Regions from separate parts of the Homo sapiens genome. Here region 2 is linked to region 1. The links are contacts of gene promoters, found by promoter capture Hi-C in human tissues and cell types (Jung and others, 2019). All regions are on one chromosome and are shown on one strand. Each heading gives the region's core, a stretch centred on a gene start or on the middle of the fragment in contact. The rest is flanking DNA. Distances are from core to core; before and after follow the strand shown. Region 1 holds the start of ADAMTS2 (ADAM metallopeptidase with thrombospondin type 1 motif 2). Region 2 has its middle 40 kb from the start of ADAMTS2.

Evidence for each region. Contacts are between HindIII fragments. The study calls those that stand out against the background at their distance.
Region 2: a fragment that was not itself captured here is called in contact with the fragment with the promoter of ADAMTS2 in region 1 in 1 of the 25 tissues and cell types used here (adrenal gland).

Annotation. Positions count from the first base shown.
Region 1 is chr5:179,344,195-179,348,603 of GRCh38, forward strand. It overlaps ADAMTS2 (ADAM metallopeptidase with thrombospondin type 1 motif 2), which reads right to left and starts at 1,267. Exons shown (of 22, transcript NM_014244.5): 1 at 996-1,267. The coding sequence starts at 1,134. It overlaps LOC105377759 (a long non-coding RNA gene), which reads right to left. Exons shown (of 3, transcript XR_941311.3): 2 at 2,752-2,904; 3 at 2,167-2,585. The HindIII fragment of the contact is 12,907 bases long and covers 1-4,409 here.
Region 2 is chr5:179,382,886-179,387,607 of GRCh38, forward strand. No RefSeq gene overlaps it. Among named protein-coding and RNA genes, the nearest start is that of ADAMTS2, 40 kb to the left of the region's middle. RefSeq lists an enhancer at 4,115-4,616. The HindIII fragment of the contact is 7,295 bases long and covers 1-4,722 here.

The DNA.
Region 1 (4,409 bases), core at 17-2,516:
CCACGGAGCCCCAGTGCCTCAGAGACCCGCCGGCAAGCCACGCCCCCCCAGACCCCGCCCCACTGCGAAGGGAAGGGGCATTCCGCCAGGCGACCCCAGAAGCCAGCCTGCACCTCCCCGGCTTTCCTGCAACCGGGAAGGGGCGTTAACAGGGCCACCACTCCGGGGCTCCGCCACTCCCCAGCCGTTCCCTCCTCCGGAGACCTTGCCTGCCAAGAGCTCTGCCCCCTGCCCCGTTCAGGGTTGGGGCTCGGTGGGAACCTCCCCGTGCCCGAAGGGACGACCCCGTCAGAGAGTCCCCCGACCCTTGCACCTACCGTCCTTGGCAGGACGTGGAGCTGCTCGGAAGCCATTCCGGGTTGGCCCCCTTACCCGTGTGCCACGACCCCTCGGCGGGCCCCTGCCGCCCGAGTGCCCTCACCGCCAGCCTCCGGAGCGGCGGAGTCTCGGCTTCCCCGAGCACGAGCGGCCTGTCCTGCCTGTCCAGCTCCCGCTCAGCCCGCTGCCGGCCCCGTCTCCCCGAGCGCCCGAGGACTGGGAGGGGTGGAACAGGGTCCCTCCGATCTCCGGGGATTCCCTGCGGGGCGCCCCAACCAATCCTTAGGGCCCAAGGCTACGCGCTCGGCAGCCGGCTCCTCCGGAGCGTCCCCGGACGCGAGCCCCGGCGCCGCCTCGCCCTGGCTCCCCCCTCGGACCCGCTGGGGCTGACTCTGCGCTCTTGGCCGCGGGGCTTTTCCCGGCCCTCCGTCCCCACCCTCCGCGACTCAGGAGCCGCCAGTGCTCCGAGGCTCCCCCGGCCCAAGGCGCTCGGGGGCGGTGCGGGGCGCCCCCTGCGCGACCAACCCGGCCCCGAAGTTGGCCAACTTGGCCCCGGGCGGGGCGCGCGGAGTTTGCCCAAGTCAGGCTGGACGACGCCTGGGGAGGGGGCGGCGGGGCACGCGGGACAGGGCCAGGCCGGCGGGGGTCCCGGGGAGTAGGGGCCGGGCCGCACCTACCTGGGGGGTCGGCGGCGGCGGCGAGCCTGGCGTTCGCGGGCGGCGGCGGCGGCGGCAGGAGCGGCGGCGGCAGCAGCAGCAGCAGCAGCAGCAGCGCGGGGCAGAGCAGGCGGCGAGCGGCTCCCGCCGGCGGATCCATGGCAGCCGGACTGCAGCCGGGGCCCCGCACTCGCAGCCGGCGCGAAAGTTCCCCGCGAGCCGCCCAGCCCACATCTGGGGGCAGCTGGAGCCGCCCGCAGCTGCAGCACCGCAGGGCGCGGGGCGGAGGAGGCGAGGCGCGGAGGGGCGGGCGGGGGAGCGCGGAGGGAAGGCGGGGAGAGGGAAGGAGCGAGCGAGCGAGGGAGGCAGGCGGGAGGGAGGGAGGCGAGCGAGGGGGAGGGCGGGGACGGCGGGCGCCTCAGCCTGCGGTGACCCGGCGCATCTTGGCGCGGCCGCCGCCGCCGCCCGCTTCCCTCTTCGCGCCGCCGTCGCCGCGGTGCCGGGCTCGCAGCGAAGCAGAGACACCCCGAGGCGGCGGCAGAGAAGCGCCGCGGGCCGGGCCGGGGGAGCCCCGCCGCCAGCCACCCCAGGGGCACAACCTCCGAGGAGCGGCGCCGGCCGAACGTCCCCACCTAGAGAGCCCTTGGGGTGCCGGGTCCCACCCATCAGCCCTGGAATTCAAGGGGTGCATCCCCCTGTCTCTGTGCTCTGGGGCAGGACAGGGTGAGGGAATGAAAGGGGAGGGGGGACTGACTACTGGGTCCAAGGTCTGAGCCAGGCCGAATGCCCAAATAGAGGCCGCAAAGGCCAGAAGATGCTGTTAGGAGGGTACACCCAGGGCGCGACCCCAAAGATCAACTTTTGCCCTTACTGAGAGAGGCAAGGCTCCTTCAGTCCCCAGTTCCTCTTCCTCTGAAGTCCCTGTCCCCTGTCCCCCATCTGCCTTCCCATCCCTCCGCTGCAGCCTCAGCACAGCCTCTTCCTGCCAGACCTGGGCTCTCTGCCCATGAGCACAGTCAGGCTCCTGCCCTCACCTGTCCTCAACCCCACGTATGCATTCTGTCCTCCCGCCATTGCACTCCCGGCCCCCAACCTGAAATGGCCTCTCCAAGCTCTGCCTACCTTTTCCACCCAAGCATCCAAGGACACCTGGGCCCATTCTGGGGCCAGTTTGCTGTTAGAGCCCGTTGCCAACCGGAACCCCTCCCCAGTCCCTCCTCTCCAGCAAGGCCCTGATCCTCCCATGCTGTCTGAGCTCAGCGGCCTCTCTCCAGGGCCTGCCTGAGAGCCCCCTCTCAGGCTGTTGATCATCTCTGCCCTGGGACCCCCAATTTCTGCCTCACTTCCCCAGAGGGTGAACACCCACCCCTTTGATTTTCTCATTTGCCCTGCCCCAGGTCTGTGTGGCCAGGGCTTTGGTCTTTGCTTTGGCCAGGGGCAGAGGACCCGGAGATGACTCAGGCCTCTCCCTGCTGGCCAGGAGGTCCCAGTCGTTGGGGGAAACACGACTTACACAGCAGGCTCTAACTGTGATCTCACGTCCTTGGTTCTTTCGATTGTGGGTCCTGGGTGTGAGAGCATCGCAGCTGGACAGCCATCTTCACCTGCAAGCTGTACTCTTTCTGTGTCACCTAAGGGTGCCCGAGGCTGGATCCAGCTCCCAGGCATGGTGAGATGTCACATGGAAATTTAGATTGGTAACTTTTCTTGAGATATTGGAAGATGTGGCCACGCTAGCCCCACAGTCCTGCTTAGCAACCATTAAATGGGCACTTACCTTGCAGTTTGTGGCAGGTCCCGCCTCTCCTCACTCTCTGTAGGCATCTGCTCTCGTGACCTGTGATGACCCAACTGGTTCCAGAGAAAGTTGGAACTGGAATCCTAGTATACCACAGAGATGACTCCAGAGCTGGGCATCCAGGAGGACTTCCTGTAAGAGGTGGCATGAGTTGAATTGTGAAGGCTGGGGGAGCTAGGCAGCCCAGAGTTGGGTCCAGCCAGTTGCTGTCCTGGAACCCATGACGCATTCCTCCTGTGGTTGTCAGCGCTTCCATCCTCTTCGAAACACGAGTGAAACCCAACCAGCAGCCGCCCCTACTTCAAGGGGCATGTTCTGCACCTTCCTGCCGTGTCTATGGTTGGGTATTTCTTTACACAGCGCCTAAAACTTTTTTCAATTTTTTAAAGGATACTTTAAATCACTACTATAAATGGAAAAGCCAGCATCTCACCATGTTTCCATAAATCAAAGATAATTGCTAAAAATAAATACAACAAGAAGAGAAATGTTATCAAATTCCAGATACTTTGACCTGCTAAAGATACCGAAGGCTGAAGCTGATTAGTAAGTGTTACAAAAGCCTTAAGATGGACTAGCACAGAGGTCGTTGTTCTGATGTGATTGGAAGGATGAAAGGAGGCCTGAAAAGGAGTAACTCTGACTTTATGAGTTGATGGCATCTTCTAACAGGTTCACAGAGCTAAATTATTTTGTATACTTTGGGATACTTGCTTTGGGATATTTTTGGGGGAAAGAATTTGTCTCCTGGACACTGAATAACCCCAGGCAGCTGATTCTTCCCACATCACCCGTGCCCCTGCCACCAGGGATGAGTTGGGGATGGAGCAGCACCCTTGCCTGGCCCTTCCTTTAGTGCCCCCACTGTCACCCACCAGGGTGGTGGATGAACAAGGCTCACATGCACCTAACTTCACAGTTAAACCCTCAGGGAGGTGGAGGAGACTTGCAGACACATCCCAGCCCGTGATCATTTGTCCTCCACTCAGAAACAAACAGAAAAACAAAAAACAACCAAAGAACAACAACAAAAATCTTGCTACTTCTTCAAACCTCCATGATTCAAATCTTGCCTCTCCCCCCTTACTGGTGTTTGCCTCTTTCTCTGGTCCCCCTTTTCCTCTTCCAGGTAAAATACGGGACATAGAAGTCCCCAGTGGCTCTCTGCTCCTCTGCATGTTCAGTCTAGGTCCCAACGACAAAAACTAAGGGCCACTGGGCCAACGCCGCCGGATGTGTTGTTGAGCACATGCCACGTGCGTTCGTTTCTACTGGAGCCTGAATGTCTTCAGGTCTGGCTGTGCTCTCCAGCTTACCGCAGTCCTCACCACCCCCTGTTGCCCTACACCTGCCTATTGCTCGTGATTGTCAGCACCATGATCCCTGAAAACCTGGAGTTGTCACCCTCACCGAGAAGCCCAGTGTTTGTAGGGAGGAGTGAGGACAAGTCAGCGTCAGCTCGGGCCTTACACACCCAACCCCCTTAAAATCTTCCCAAAGTTGTGTGGTGCAGAAAGAGGTGAGGACCTTTCCGGGTCATCTTGGGTGCCACGAGTCACCCCACATCCCTGGCAGAAGAAACACTAAGGAGGAGGAATGTTTGTTGCCCACCACAGCTCTCAGTGGGTGGGTGCCCT
Region 2 (4,722 bases), core at 669-3,168, 39 kb after region 1:
GGAACGTTCCCGTCAGTTGTGCCTGATGTTCTGGCACACATCCACGTTACTATTTGGAACCACCCACCTTCTCAACATCACCACCCTGCTGGATGGACAGTGGCATCTCACTGTTGCTTTAATTTGCATTTCTTTGCCCACGGATGTGTTTGAGTCTCTTCGAACACTTGCTAGCCATTTGGGCATCCATTTCTGAAAACCACCTCATCCTCTCCTTTCTCATTTCTCTACTGAGTTGCCCGTCTCTTGGTATTGATCAGCAGGAGCTCTTTCTATATTCTAATAGTAATCCCTTAGCATTTGTAGGCGTCACAAGCATCTCCTCCCAGTCTGCCTTCTGTTGGCGTGGGGCTGTGGTGTTCTTTTTTTTTTTTTTTTGAGATGGAGTCTCACTCTGTCGCCCAGGCTGGAGTGCAGCGTGCGATCTCAGGTCACTGCAAGCTCCGCCTCCCGGGTTCACGCCATTCTCCTGCCTCAGCCTCCCGAGTAGCTGGGACTACAGGCGCCCACCACCACGCCCGGATTAATTTTTTGTATTTTTACTAGAGACAGGGTTTCCCCATGTTAGCCAGGACGGTCTCGATCTCCCGACCTCATGATCCGCCCGCCTCAGCCTCCCAAAGTGCTGGAATTACAGGCGTGAGCCACCGCGCCCGGCCGGGCTGTGGTGTTCTTTACTAAACAGATAGCCTTGATTTTGATTTAGCCAAATCCATTCTTTTTTCAGCCCAGGTTTGCATGTGGGGAGTTTTGCTTAAGAAAACTTTCCCCCGCTATAGGTCACAAAGATGTTATCCTGAGTATTCACTGATCAGCTCTGAAGCTTTCCCTTCCATCCGTAGGCCTTTAATCCAGCTGGGGACCACCTGGAATACTGGGGTGAAGTGGAAGTCCGGCTTCAAAGGGAGCCAGTTTTCCCAGCTTCATTCACTAAACAACCAGCCTTGCCCTTTCCCTTTGTGCTGCCACCTTTATCGAGTTCCTGTCTACCCCAGGTCTGTTTTGATCTCTCTGTTCCATGGTCCTGACGCCTGGCCTATGCTGTTCCCAGGACCACGGCCTCTGCAACACACAATGGCGCCTGCTCAGGAGTTGCCCTGCCCCTTCTCTGCTCTGTGGTTCAAAATTGACTTAGTTTTTTGTGTTAGGCCATTTGAGCTGCTATTTAAAAAGTACCATAAACAGGTTAGCTAATAAACAACAGAAATTTTTCTTTTTTTCTTTCTTTTTTTTTTTTTGAGACAGTCTCACTCTGTGGCCCAGGCTGGAGTGCAGTGGCACGATCTTTGCTCACTGCAATCTTGGCGTCCTGGGCTCAAGCGATTCTCCCACCTCAACCTCTTAAGTAGCTGGGACTACAAGCACGTCCCATCATGCCTGGCTAATTTTTTAATTTTTTAATTTTTTTTTTTTTTTTGTAGAGACACGGTTTCGCCATGTTGCCCAGGCTAGTATCCAACCCCTGGGCTCGAGTGATCCGCCTGCCTTGGCCTTCCAAAGTTCTGGGATTGCAGATATAAGCAACTGTGCCTAGCCTACAGCAAAAAATTGTTGCTCATAGTTCTGGAGGCTGGCAAGTCCGAGATCAAGGTGCTGGCAGTTTCTTTTTATTTTATTTTATTTTACTTTTTTTTTTTTTTTCAGAGTCTTGCTTTGTCACCCAGGCTGGAGTGCAGTGGCGCGATTTCGGCTCACTGCAAGCTCTGCCTCCCAGGTTCATGCAATTCTCCTGCCTCAGCCTCCCAAGTAGCTGGGATTACAAGCATGTGCCATCACACCTGGCTAATTTTTGTATTTTTAGTAGAGATGGGGTTTTACCATGTTGGCAGGCTGGTCTCGAACTCCAGATCTCAGGTGATCTGCTCGCCTCAGCCTCCCAAAGTGCTGGGATTACAGGAGTGAGTCACTGCGCCTGGCCAAGGTGCCGGCAGTTTCAGTGTCTGGTGAGGCCACGTCCTCATAGCCCTCCTCACTGTGTCCCCACGTGGTGGAGGAGGCAAGGCAGCTCTCTGGGCCTCTTGTATAAGGGCACTCGTCCCATTCGGGAGGGCAGCACCCTCATGACCTCATCACCTCCCAAATACCTCTCCTTTCCCATTTTTCTACTGGGTTAGTTTCTACTAGCCCCACTTCCTAATCCCATCACAGCGGGGACTAGGTGGTAGCATGTGAATTCTGGGGGAACACAAACATTCAGATTATAGCATTTGTCTTACACCTTGATCCTTCCACATAAATTCACAGTGAGTTTATTCATCTCCTCGACAATTCCAGCTGGAATTTTGATCAGGATTACATTTAATGCATAGGTGAATCTGGTACTGTTGGGAACCTGTAACATTAAAGTATCTCTTCGTTTAATAATGACTCAAGCTGTGTTCTTTTTTTTTTTTTTTTTTGAGACTGAGTCTCGTTCTGTTGCCCTGGCTGGAGTGCAGTGGCACGATCTCGGCTCACTGCAAGCTCCGCCTCTCGGGTTCCAGCCATTCTCCTGCCTCAGCCTCCCGAGTAGCCGGGACTATAGGCACCTGCCACCACGCCCGGCTAATTTTTTGTATTTTTAGTAGAGACGGGGTTTCACTGTGTTAGCCAGGATGGTCTCAATCTCCTGACCTCGTGATCTGCCCGCCTCGGCCTCCCAAAGTGTTTGAATTACAGGCGTGAGCCACCGCGCCCGGCCTACGACTCCAGCTATGTTCTCTACTGGAATGTTCAATTTTTGTAGAAAAACCACGTGCGTTCTTTGTTATGTGGATTCCAGGGTGCGTTTTAGGTTTTCGAGCATTGCAAATGGTGACCTTTTTTTCAATGTATTGGTCACTTTTCATTAATAACTTGTTCCTATGAAGCACTTCACAGTATTTTTGAAATATTAACATTTTTGTGGTACATTTGCCATATATGTTTCTTTACTCCATTTTTCAGTAAAGATAATTTATTTGGCTGCCAGTGTCTCATCATCGATAAGACCAGTGGAGGGTTTAGACCAGCTGTTTGTGGATTGTTTGAAGAGAGCTGTGTAAATCTGTAGTCCAGGGGAAATTCTCCTGTTACTTCAAAACTTGAAAGAGCAATAGTATGGTAAGTACTGATTCTCTTACAAGACTATGAAGCCAGATGTCTGTACTTTCCAGTGCCCAAATTGAATGAATAATAGAGAGAACAGCCTAATACAGCAAGGGCGGGGCTGGGCGTGGTGAAGCTCCTGCTTCTCCTCCCGGGCATGCTGCCTCCCAGCACTCTCTGCGTTCACCGTCCAGAAAACACCATGACTTAGTTTTAGTTGGCTGTGTCACGGGTGTAAAGAGAAGCTGGTGGGCCGGTGAGTTGGCCACATATCCAGCAGCCTTGCCTAAGCTCCCTGCTAGTTCTGTTATCTTGCCTGCTGATTCCATGGGTTTATGTGATGTTATCATCTGCAAGGAATGAGGCCCTATCTTTTCCCTTCTGATCCTGACGGGTCTTCTGCCACTTTCATCCCTCAGAGCCTTAGTCCACCCCCTTAGTAGTGGGGCCCATGTGGGCTCACAGTGAGAAGATTCATCTTCGCCAGGATTCTTGGTGCAGTCGGCTTTTGGGGTGTAGCAATTATGAAGTTAAGAAACTTTCTGTCTACTCTTAGTTTCCTGAGAGTTTTTAAAAGTCATATATAAGCACCAAACTGTGGTTTTCTCAATCTATGAAGATACTTGATATCAGCATTCTTAAAAATATATTTTAAAATTGGCCAGGCACAGTGCCTCATGCGTGTAATCCCAGCACTTTGGGAGGCCGAGGCGGGCAGATCACCTCAGGTCAGGAGTTCAAGACCAGCCTGGCCAACATGGTGAAACCCCATCTCTACTAAAAATACAAAAATTAGCCAGGCATGATAGCAGGCGCCTGTAATCCCAGCTACTTGGGAGGCTGAGGCAGGGAGGATTGCTTGAACTCAGGAGGTGGAGGTTGCAGTAAGCTGAGATATATGTATTTAAATTTCCAAGAGTGCACTTTTTTTTCAGTAATAGCTAAAAAAAAATCTAAGGGAACCAACTGTAGACACTGTAAGGTAACCAGTCAGGTAAGGATGGTAATGAACCAGCCTGGGCCACCAGCTCCACCCTCAGCCTAGCTGGGGACCCAGTGCAGGAGTGGAGAAGACTTTGGGTGTGGAGAATTAAAATGAGACTGCAGGAAGAGAGGGCATTTCTGCCTGATGCAGAGGGGAGGTGGCTGCTAGGGTGGAGAGGGCCTGTTGGTTGTGGCCAAGGGGGCAGAGTCCAGTGAGCCCCATGGCCTCAGGTGAGCCATTGCCTCTCCCCCAGCCCCACACTGTTACAGGACCTAGAACAGCAACCTCAGTGTGTCCTGCAGGTGGGAGAGTGGGATCAGGTCCTCTAGAGTGAAACCCAGGTAAGAGCTGGCGCAGGGAGAATTGTGAGCTGGCCCCGGAGCTTCCCTTCCCTCCCCACACAGCCCCTGCCCTCACTGAGCACTGGCCAGCTATAGACAAAGGGGAAAGCTCTTGGAAGACAGCAGTCCCCAGGCTGCTGGATCTAGAAGGTCTGTGAGGGGCAGGGCCACTTGGTTGGAGGCAGCTCAGAGTGGCCATCAAGCCTAGACTGTGGGGCTCACTTTGGGCTCTTTGCCCTGGGGCACGCCCTCTTCCCAAATCCACCGGAAACATCCCGAGCTGCTGAAACTAGTCCCCCCGACACAGTGCTCAGCCTCAGACAAGGTAAC